Linked DNA regions of Homo sapiens: all the other regions are linked to region 1. Evidence: promoter capture Hi-C in human tissues and cell types (Jung and others, 2019). All regions are on one chromosome and are shown on one strand. The core of a region is centred on a gene start or on the middle of the fragment in contact, and the rest is flanking DNA. Distances in the headings are between cores, read along the strand shown.

Region 1 (2,958 bases), core at 1-2,500:
CGGGGTCCAGGAACCCTCAGAAACAGCAGCCCCCAGTCCTGGCAGTGTGTGCGCGTGTGTGCATGTGTGTGCATGCATGTGTGCATCTGTACATGTGTGCGTGTGCATGAGAGCATGTGTGTGCGTGTGTGCACTCACATGTGTACGTGACAGCATGCGTGTGTGCGTGCGTGTGTACATGTGTGTGCATGTGCATGAGTATTGTGTGCATGTGTGCATGTATGTGTACATGTGTGCGTGTGTGCATGAGAGCATGTGTGCGTGTGTGCGCATGTGTGACAGCATGCATGTGTGCGTGTGTACGTGTGTGCATGTGCATGAGAGTATTGTGTGCATGTGTGCATGCATGTGTGTGTACATGTGTGCGTGTGTGCATGAGAGTGTGTGTGCATGTGTGTGCATGTGTGCATGTGCTTGAGAGCGTGTGTGCGTGCATGTGCGTGAGCATGTGTGCGTGTGTGTGTGTTGTGTGCACACGTGTGACCTGGCTCTGGCCCCACCTCCCTGACAGGCTGTGTGACCTGGAGAGATTCAGTGCCCTCTCTGGGCCTTGGCTCCACCCTGTGAAAGTCCTGGCCAAGGGCAGCTGTGGGGAGTGAGGAACAAAGGGCGGGCACAAGCTTGAAAATGGGCACATGGAGACCCCAGCATGAGTGAGGGCAGAGGATGGTGATGTCATGGGCATCATCACGGGGGCCAATTTCCTCACTGCAGTTGGGGAAACTGAGACCCAGAGAGGGGTCAGAGCTGTGGTTCCCCCCTGTGTCAGCATCCAATTAGATCATGCCTCCCAGCATCACCTCATTGCAAGATGCAATCAGATCACGCCTCATTACCCTATGCTTATAAAACCTGCCCCAGCCCTCAGCTCGGGGAGACACTGCTTTGGGAGCTGTCTAGGTGTTCTCCTTACTTGTTGCAAGAAATAAAATCCCCTATTAAATCCTCTTTAGTTAACACCCGCCAAGCAACTGAGCCCACCCGTTGTGTGGGTAACAAAACTCTGGCGACCCAGATGGGGCCGACTGGGATTCTGATCCTAACTTCTTGAGGCTCACTAAGGTAAAGCAGTGGGCCGCGGCACCTTCCCCGGGCGAACTCACCCACGTGGCCCCAGAGGGTTGAGGGTGACTCCCGGGGATCTTCTGCTTGCTGCGTGGCCCGTGGGGCTGTCACTCCGCCCTACCCCCGAAACAGCGGAAGCAGCTGCCTGGAGCTTTTGTTCTGTGCTGCTCCTTCAGGGAAGAAAGTGGACTTTGCCCCGTGGGTTGACTGAAAGGGTAAATTCTTTGGACCTAGCAGTGGGATCTCTAGACTTCAGCGCAGGGCACCTCTGCTTTCGGTTTCTGTCTGGCTCTACGTGCCGTGGGGGATTGAGAGGCATCTCTGGCCAGGCCAAGGGCAACCCGGATCCCGGATCTGGGTAGACAACAGTGGGACTAGTTTTGGGAATTCGTTTTTTTTTTTTTGAGACAGAGTCTGGCTCTGTCACCCAAGCTGGGGTGCAGTGGCGCGATCTCGGCTCACTGCAAGCTCCACCTCCCGGGTTCACGCCATTCTCCTGCCTCAGCTTCCTGAGTAGCTGGGACCACAGGCGCCCGCCACCACGCCCGGCTAATTTTTTGCATTTTTAGTAGAGACGGGGTTTCACCGTGTTAGCCAGGATGGTCTCGATCTCTTGACCTCGTGATCCGCCCGCCTCGGCCTCCCAAAGTGCTGAGATTACAGGCGTGAGCCACCGCGCCCAGCATGAGAATTTGTTCTTTTTTAGAGAAACAGAATTTTTCACAGGAGGCTGAGCTGCTCCATCTCCCAGAGCCCCTACTTGCCATACCCCGGGTTACCAGAAACAGGAGCTCTGCCATTTGATGAAAAAAATACTTTTTTCAGATAAATGTTTTTGTCATATCATCACACAAAGCGGGTAAAGTTGTATATATATACATACAACTTTTTACAAATATGTGATCATATGTACAAAGGCTAGAAGGAAATATACAGAAAAATATGTATTAAAATACTGGTTTTTTTTCATTGTTTTATAAGATACTCTACAAAACATTACAATGAGGTAGGACTATTTTAGTGCTAGAGAATCTCATTAAATGAATTTGTTCAAGAGCTTCTTTGTCAGCTGGGTGCAGTGGCTCACACCTGTAACCCCAACACTTTGGGAGGCCAAGGGGGGCAGATTGCTTGAGCCTAGGTGTTCAAGACCAGCCTGGGCAACATAGGGAGACCCTGTCTCTACCAAAAAAAAAAAAAAAATTAGGGTGGGCGCGGTGGCTCACACCTATAATCCCAGCACTTTGGGAGGCTGAGGCGAGTGGATCACCTGATGTCAGGAGTGTAAGACCAGCCTGGGCAACATGGCAAAACCCCGTCTGTACTAAAAATACAAAATTTATCCAGGCATGGTGGTGGGTGCCTGTAATCCCAGCTACTTGGGAGGCTGAGGCATGAGGCAGAGGTTGCAGTGAGCCGAGATCATGCCATTGCACTACAGCCTGGGCGACAAGAGCGAAACTCTGTCTCAAAAAAAAAAAAAAAAAAAAATTAGCCAGGTGGTGGCACACACAGCTGTGGCCCCAGCTACTCAGGAGGCTGAGGCGGGAGAATCACTTGAGCACGGGGAGTTGGAGGTAATCGTACCGTGAGTACAGTGAGCCGTTATCGTATGGCTGCATTCCAGGCTAGACAACACAGTGAGACCTTGTCTCAAAAGAAAATAAATAAATAAATAAATAAATAAATAAATAAATAAATAAATAAAGAGCTTCTTTGTCAATATCCTTTTGTGGGTATACATCATAGTCCCACAGTACTTCTTCAACCCAGGGAGATAAATGTGTATTAGTCTGAAGACCCAGGAGAGAATCTTCAAGACTTGGCACTGTCACTGATGATGATCTGCTTCCTTACATTATGACAAATGTATTCCCAGCTCCGGCTTGTTCT
Region 2 (2,958 bases), core at 133-2,632, 170 kb after region 1:
ACCTGCCTCAGCCTCCCAAAGTGCTGGGATTATAGGCGTGAGCCACTGTGCCTGGCTGTGCACTCATGTTTGATTTTTGCAGAACCACCCTTCCCTAATGGTTGTCTCCTAGATCCAAGGTGACTTTATTCATTTTAGAATGAACTTATCCCATTGATACTGTAACTAGAGTTGGCATACATCACGATTGGCAGAACCCGGTCATGTTTAGCGAGATGGAAGTGTTCTGGAAACTCCTCCTTCTTGTAGATGTGGAGGTGAGGGTGCGCATTCTTCAGTGCCTGGTAAAGGGCTTCTTCTTGCCCCAGTTTGGGTAGGGGCAGCCCAAAGCCACCATAGCCCACAATATCAAACTTGACCCAGTCCCTGAACTTGATGTAGTTGGACAAGGGATCTTGTTGACATTGGGTCTCTTCTTCACGGTCATCATCCCATGGTCTCATGTGATGATGACCTGAGGTGCTCTGCAGGCTGTGCTTCTCAGTGGCTCCCACCAGATACCAGATGGTCCTGTCGAGTTGCTGAATCATCAACTTCCTATTCTCTGCCTCTGGCTTGAATCGATGTCCTACGTTATCTGGCTGTCTGTAGTACAGAGTCACAAAGTCAAAGTCTTCCTTGGTGAAGCAGTTCATGACGGTATCGATGTTCTCCCTCTGCTCTGTCTCGTTGTTATTTTGGTGAGTGTAGGACTCCACCAGGGACCGCTTGACAGCCTCACCCTCGTATTTAGCACCTCCCCTGGAATAGTGGGATGATGCTGCTTTCTTCCCCTTCACGTACAATAAGAAAATTCCATCAGGGCCATTTCTCATACCTTTCTCACAATCAGCAAAGCTCGAGTTGTCTACATCTGTGCCCCAGTCCAAAGACATAGAAAATATGTGGTCTTTGGAGTCAGACAGGGTGGAGTTAGATTCTGGGATTCCCCAGGATCTCATAGCATCTACAACACTGTTAGTTACAAGATGTACTATTATTTTATGGGCTACTAAGCAGAAAAATGCCGCCAACGAGACTGTGACATTCCAGTGATTGTAAGGTGTATTACAACTTCAGAGATGGCAAAATGAAAAATAATTCCTTAGAATAGAGGGAGACGGTAATTTCTGAGTTGTTGGTGGTGAATCTGTGCATGTGTGTTTTTTATATATATACACATATATATACATACATATACATGTATATATATGTGTATATATAGACATACCTATATACATATACATATATATATGTGTATATATAGTGGTGCAGTGGTACAATCATAGCTCATTGCACCCTTGAACTCCTGGGCTTAAGCGATCCTCCTACCTCAGCCTCTTGAGTAGCTGGGGCCACAGGCATGTACCACCATACCTATATATATATATTTTTTTGAGACACGGTGTCACTCTCTCACCTAGGCTGGAGTGCAGTGGCACGATCTCAGCTCACTGCAACTTCTGACTCCTGGGTTCAAGCAATTCTTTTGCCTCAGCCTCCCAAGTAGCTGGGATTATAGACACGTGCCACTATGCTCAGCTAAGTTTTGCATTTTTAATTGAGATAGAGTTTTGTCGTGATGGCCAGGCTGGTTTCGAACCCCTGGGCTGAAGTGATCCACCTGCCTTGACCTCCCAAAGTGCTGGGATTACATGTGTGAGCCACCGCGCCTAGCCCTAATTTTTTTTTTTTTTTTTTTTTTTTTAGTCTTTGTAGAGATGAGGTCTCGCTAATTTGCCCAGGCTTGTCCTGAACTCCTGGGTTTAAGTGATTCTCCTGCCTCAGCCTCTCAAACTGCTGGGATTACACGCAAGAGACACTGCACCCGGCTGGTTGTGAGTTTTTAAATTTTCCAGTGTCTCAGTGTTTCTACCTGTAGAATGCCAAAAAGTAGATGGCATCTTTGCGAGGATTAAGTCGACTAGCTTTTTTTTTTTTTTTTTTTGAGAGAGAATTTCTTTCTTGTCACCCAGGCTGGAGTGCAATGGCGTGATCTTGGCTCACTGCAACCTCTGCCTCCTGGATTCAAGTGATTCTCCTGCCTCAGCCTCCCAAGTAGCTGGGATTACAAAGCCAGCTAGCTTTAAGATACAGTGTGGGGCATCACATTTTGGCACGGAGCAGGCACTCTTTCCTTTGCCCCCAGGTGGGACTAAGCCACCACAAGCCTTCCCTGGTGTGTGCAGTGGGTGATGAATGCTTGCCTGCTCAGCACCCACTACATGCTGGGCTGGGTCACATTACTCTGACTCCCCCTTGAGCTTCAGTCCGTGCCTGGTTCAAGATGTATTCACTCAACTCGAGGATCCAGAGGTGGGATGTGGCTCTGGCCTGGCCAGAGGACAGAGGATGCTGCATGCCATGGCTACAGCAACTGGTTCAGCTTTGGGCTCATGTCCTAGTCAGAGCCAATGAGATGTAATCTTCGGATATCTGCTGGGCTGTTGGGAAGGGGACAGGCTGCCCTGCTCATCCCCATTCCTGATGCTGAGGGATCTGAGAAAATCACTTGTAAAATTCGGGGGTGTTTGGAAGAAGGGGAGACCGATGTCTCCTTCTCTCTACAGACATCTGATCAGCTACAGAGCTTGACTGACCTACCCAGAGGCATAATGATATGGTGGTTAAAAGTGTGCTCTGGGCCGAGATCTTGCCACCGAACTCCAGCCTGGGTGACAGAGTGAGACTCCGTATAAAAAAAAAAAAAAGTGTGCTCTGGGCTGGGCGCGGAGGCTTATGACTGTAATCCCAGCACTTTGGGAGGCTGAGGCAGGAAGATCGCTTGAAGTCAGGAGTTTGGGATCAGACCCTATCTCTAGAAAAATGCTTTTTAAAAATTAGCTGCGTTGGTGGTGAATGCCTGTAGTCTCAGCTACTCGGGAGGCTGAGGCAGGAAGATTGCTGGAGCCCGGGAGTTCAAGGCTGCAGTGAGCTATGATCAGGCCACTGCACTCCAGTTTGAGGGACAGAGAGAGA
Region 3 (2,958 bases), core at 318-2,817, 140 kb after region 1:
GATCCCTGCTTCCCACAGCCAGGGTGGGACCATGTGGGGTCTGGCGGAAAAGCTAGGGAGAGAGCAGAAGTCACAGAGGCTGGCCTACTCTGCTGTCCCGTTTCGGTACAGTAGGCTCGGGAAAGTTAGGACACACCCCCACCTGCCCTCTGGATTTATGGAGCTGACACTCCACAAATGATGCTGGAGCCGGGTGGGCCGGGCTGCAGTTTCGGAAGTGATCAGGATCAGGTAGGTGCATGGGCAAAGGGAACTTCTGGGACCAGCCTTGAAAGATGGGTGGAATTCTGCAAAGGTTACTTGTTTCTTATTGCTAAAAGTAATACATCATTCTTGCCAACAGAATGATTGGCAGGATTTTCAGTAAAGGTCCAGGTCAGAAGTCATTTAGACTGTGTCTCCTAGTCTCTGTCAGAACCATGGTACTCTGTTGTGGTGTGAAAGTAGCCACAGATCATCTTCGATTAAGGGGTGTGGCTTTGTTCCAATAAAACTTTATTTACAAACACAGGCTGTGGGCTGGATTTGGCCTGCAGGCTGTAGTTTGTGATCCTTGATTCAGACAGTTTAGCAAGGCTGAAAAGAACACCAACACCCCCTTGTTACCCACAGATGGGTGGGACTTGGCCAGAGGCCAAGAGGAGGGTGCTCGCAGGGGAACATACAGCGTGTAGAGGCCGGGAGGTGCTCCAGGGCACGAAGTGTGGGAAAGTGGGACAGAAAGCGTGATGTCAAGTTGGAGGCGGAGCGCTGCTGGGGCGTGAAGAGTCTCGAGTCCAAGTGAGGGAGTTAGGAACTTGGGAGGGTTTGTTGTTGGGTCGGGGACCTGGGGTCAGCCAGGTGGTGACCTGGGATGGGGTGGGGACAGGAAATGAGTTAAGCTCTGCTCTTTATTTTTTTGCAGATGCTTTTCTCAAACTTTCCTGATCCTGCGGGCAAGCTAAACCAGTTCTGGAAGAACCTGCGGGAATCGCAGCAGCTCCGATGGGATGAGAGCTGGGTGCAGAGTGTGCTCCATTTGGTTATGGACACATAACTCCTGGGCCAGAGGCTAAAACCCCGGGACCCCTGCTGTCCTTCCCGCAGCTTCTTCTCGGAGTCTCAGGGCAAACCCTTTCGAGCAGCGCCTCCCAGTGGCCAGAAGGTGAAATGACGGCAGTGGTGCCGCCTGGTAAATGAATTGGTTCTGTGACCCGGGAAGCTGTGCTTGGCTCTGATTTCTTTTCTGGAGGCTCGGAAACACTTCCTATCTTCTTCTGTTCTTCACGCCCCATGCCCCTGCTAGCGGATTACTGTTCTGCGACTTCCGTGTGACCTCTGCAGTACTCCTCATCCTGCGTTTGCTCTCCAGGTGTCATCTTTCCGCCGTGTTCCTAACATTTTGATTCCTGTCTTGAAAAAAGCACCTGCTGCACTGTAAGCCCAGGGATGTGGCAGCTGCAGTGGGCTTGGCTTTGTGAAGAACCGAGTGTGTCCACGGATGTGGCAGCTGCAGCGGGCTTGGCTTTGTGAGGAACCGAATGTGTCCAGGGATGTGGCAGCTGCAGCGGGCTTGGCTTTGTGGGGAACCGAGTGTGTCCACATTGGGGGAACATCATACTTGATACACACGTTTTTATTTGCACAAAGAAAATGCTATTTTTGGAGCCAGAGATTTCATGTCTGATTGATGGCGATTTTCTTAAGAACCAGAACTGCTGGCAGAAAGGGAGCACCCACATGCTTAGATAGCTGATGTCTTATTAGAGGGCAGTTTGTGGTTCCTGATTTGGAAATTAACATTCTCCAAACATTCCAGTCCAATGAAAGTTTTATCCGCTTTCCCATATAAAAACTCTTCCCACTAGAGTGACTTGATTCTCACAATCCCGTTGGAGTCGTATGTGAGTCCTACAGTGTGAGGTTCAGCATTGCCATCTCCAAGTGCTCTTCGTAGGGAAACAGTTTCTGGTCATGACGAGGTTCCACTTCCCATCTGATCCCAGCCCGGCCTGGAAACAGAGGACATGTGTTTCAGGATGGCAGTGTTTGGGGACAGGACATGAGCGTATTGTGTGGGGCTGCTAGGACAGGCCTGGCGGGGTGGGGGGTGTGTCCAAGTCAGTTTACTTGGTTCACAGGTTCCCAGGCCCACCCAGGTGCCTAGAATTGGCCTCCAGGATGGGACAAGAAATCTGGTTTTGCATAGAAATGGCTAGCAGCAGGCACCGTGCCGCTGTCCACTCTCTGCCCGCATCTGCCCCAGCACTTGGCACAGCGGGACAGATGCAGAGATCTGAACCCACATCTACCTGGCTGCTCAGTCAACCCACTATTCACAAAGCTTAGAAAGCGTCCAGGCACAGTGGCTCACGCCTGTAATCCCAACACTTTGGGAGGCCAAGGCGGGTGGATCACTTGAGATCAGGAGTTCGAAACCAGCCTGGCCAACATGGTAAAACCTCATCTCTACAAAAATACAAAAATTAGGCAGGCACGATGGTGGGTGCCTGTAATCCCAGCTACTTGGGAGGCTGAGGCGGGAGAATTGCTTGAACCCAGGAGGCGGAGGTTGCAGTGAGCCGAGATTGTGCCACTGCACTTGAGCCTGAGTGACAGAGTGAGACTCCATCTCAAAAAAAAAAAAAAAAAAAAAATTACACACACACACACACGCACACACACAGCTTAGAAGGGGCTGGTGTTCTCATAAGCACAGATGTCTGAAGAGCCGTTAGCCAGAATGATTCTTTTTTTTTTTTTTTTTGAGATACGATCTTGTTCTGTCACCCAGGCTGGAGTGCAGTGGCACAGTCATTGCTCACTACAGCCTCGACTCCTGGGCTCTAGCAATCCTCCCACTTCCTGAGTAGCTGGGATGACAGGTGCGTGCCACCATGCTAGTAATTTTTTTATTTTGTAGAGATGGGGTCCTGAATGCATGGCCTCAAGTGATGGTCCTGCCTCAGCCTCATTTAT

The links. The method cuts DNA at HindIII sites, captures the fragments that hold promoters and counts their contacts. A contact is called where the count stands out against the background at its distance.
Region 2: a fragment that was not itself captured here is called in contact with the fragment with the promoter of ACY3 in region 1 in 2 of the 25 tissues and cell types used here (spleen and stomach).
Region 3: a contact is called between a fragment that was not itself captured here and the fragment with the promoter of ACY3 in region 1, in 1 of the 25 tissues and cell types used here (H1 embryonic stem cells).

Annotation. Positions count from the first base shown.
Region 1 is chr11:67,649,480-67,652,437 of GRCh38, forward strand. It overlaps ACY3 (aminoacylase 3), which reads right to left and starts at 1,251. Exons shown (of 8, transcript NM_080658.2): 1 at 1,104-1,251. RefSeq lists enhancers at 1,323-1,402, 1,473-1,532. The HindIII fragment of the contact is 14,698 bases long and covers 1-2,958 here.
Region 2 is chr11:67,819,752-67,822,709 of GRCh38, forward strand. All of the region lies in intron 3 of LOC112268076 (translation initiation factor IF-2-like), which reads right to left. It also overlaps the pseudogene ENPP7P7. Among named protein-coding and RNA genes, the nearest start is that of LINC02754, 63 kb to the right of the region's middle. The HindIII fragment of the contact is 6,215 bases long and covers 1-2,958 here.
Region 3 is chr11:67,791,303-67,794,260 of GRCh38, forward strand. It overlaps the pseudogene ALG1L8P and the pseudogene FAM86C2P. Among named protein-coding and RNA genes, the nearest start is that of LINC02754, 92 kb to the right of the region's middle. RefSeq lists enhancers at 309-1,121, 1,935-2,746. The HindIII fragment of the contact is 4,732 bases long and covers 1-2,958 here.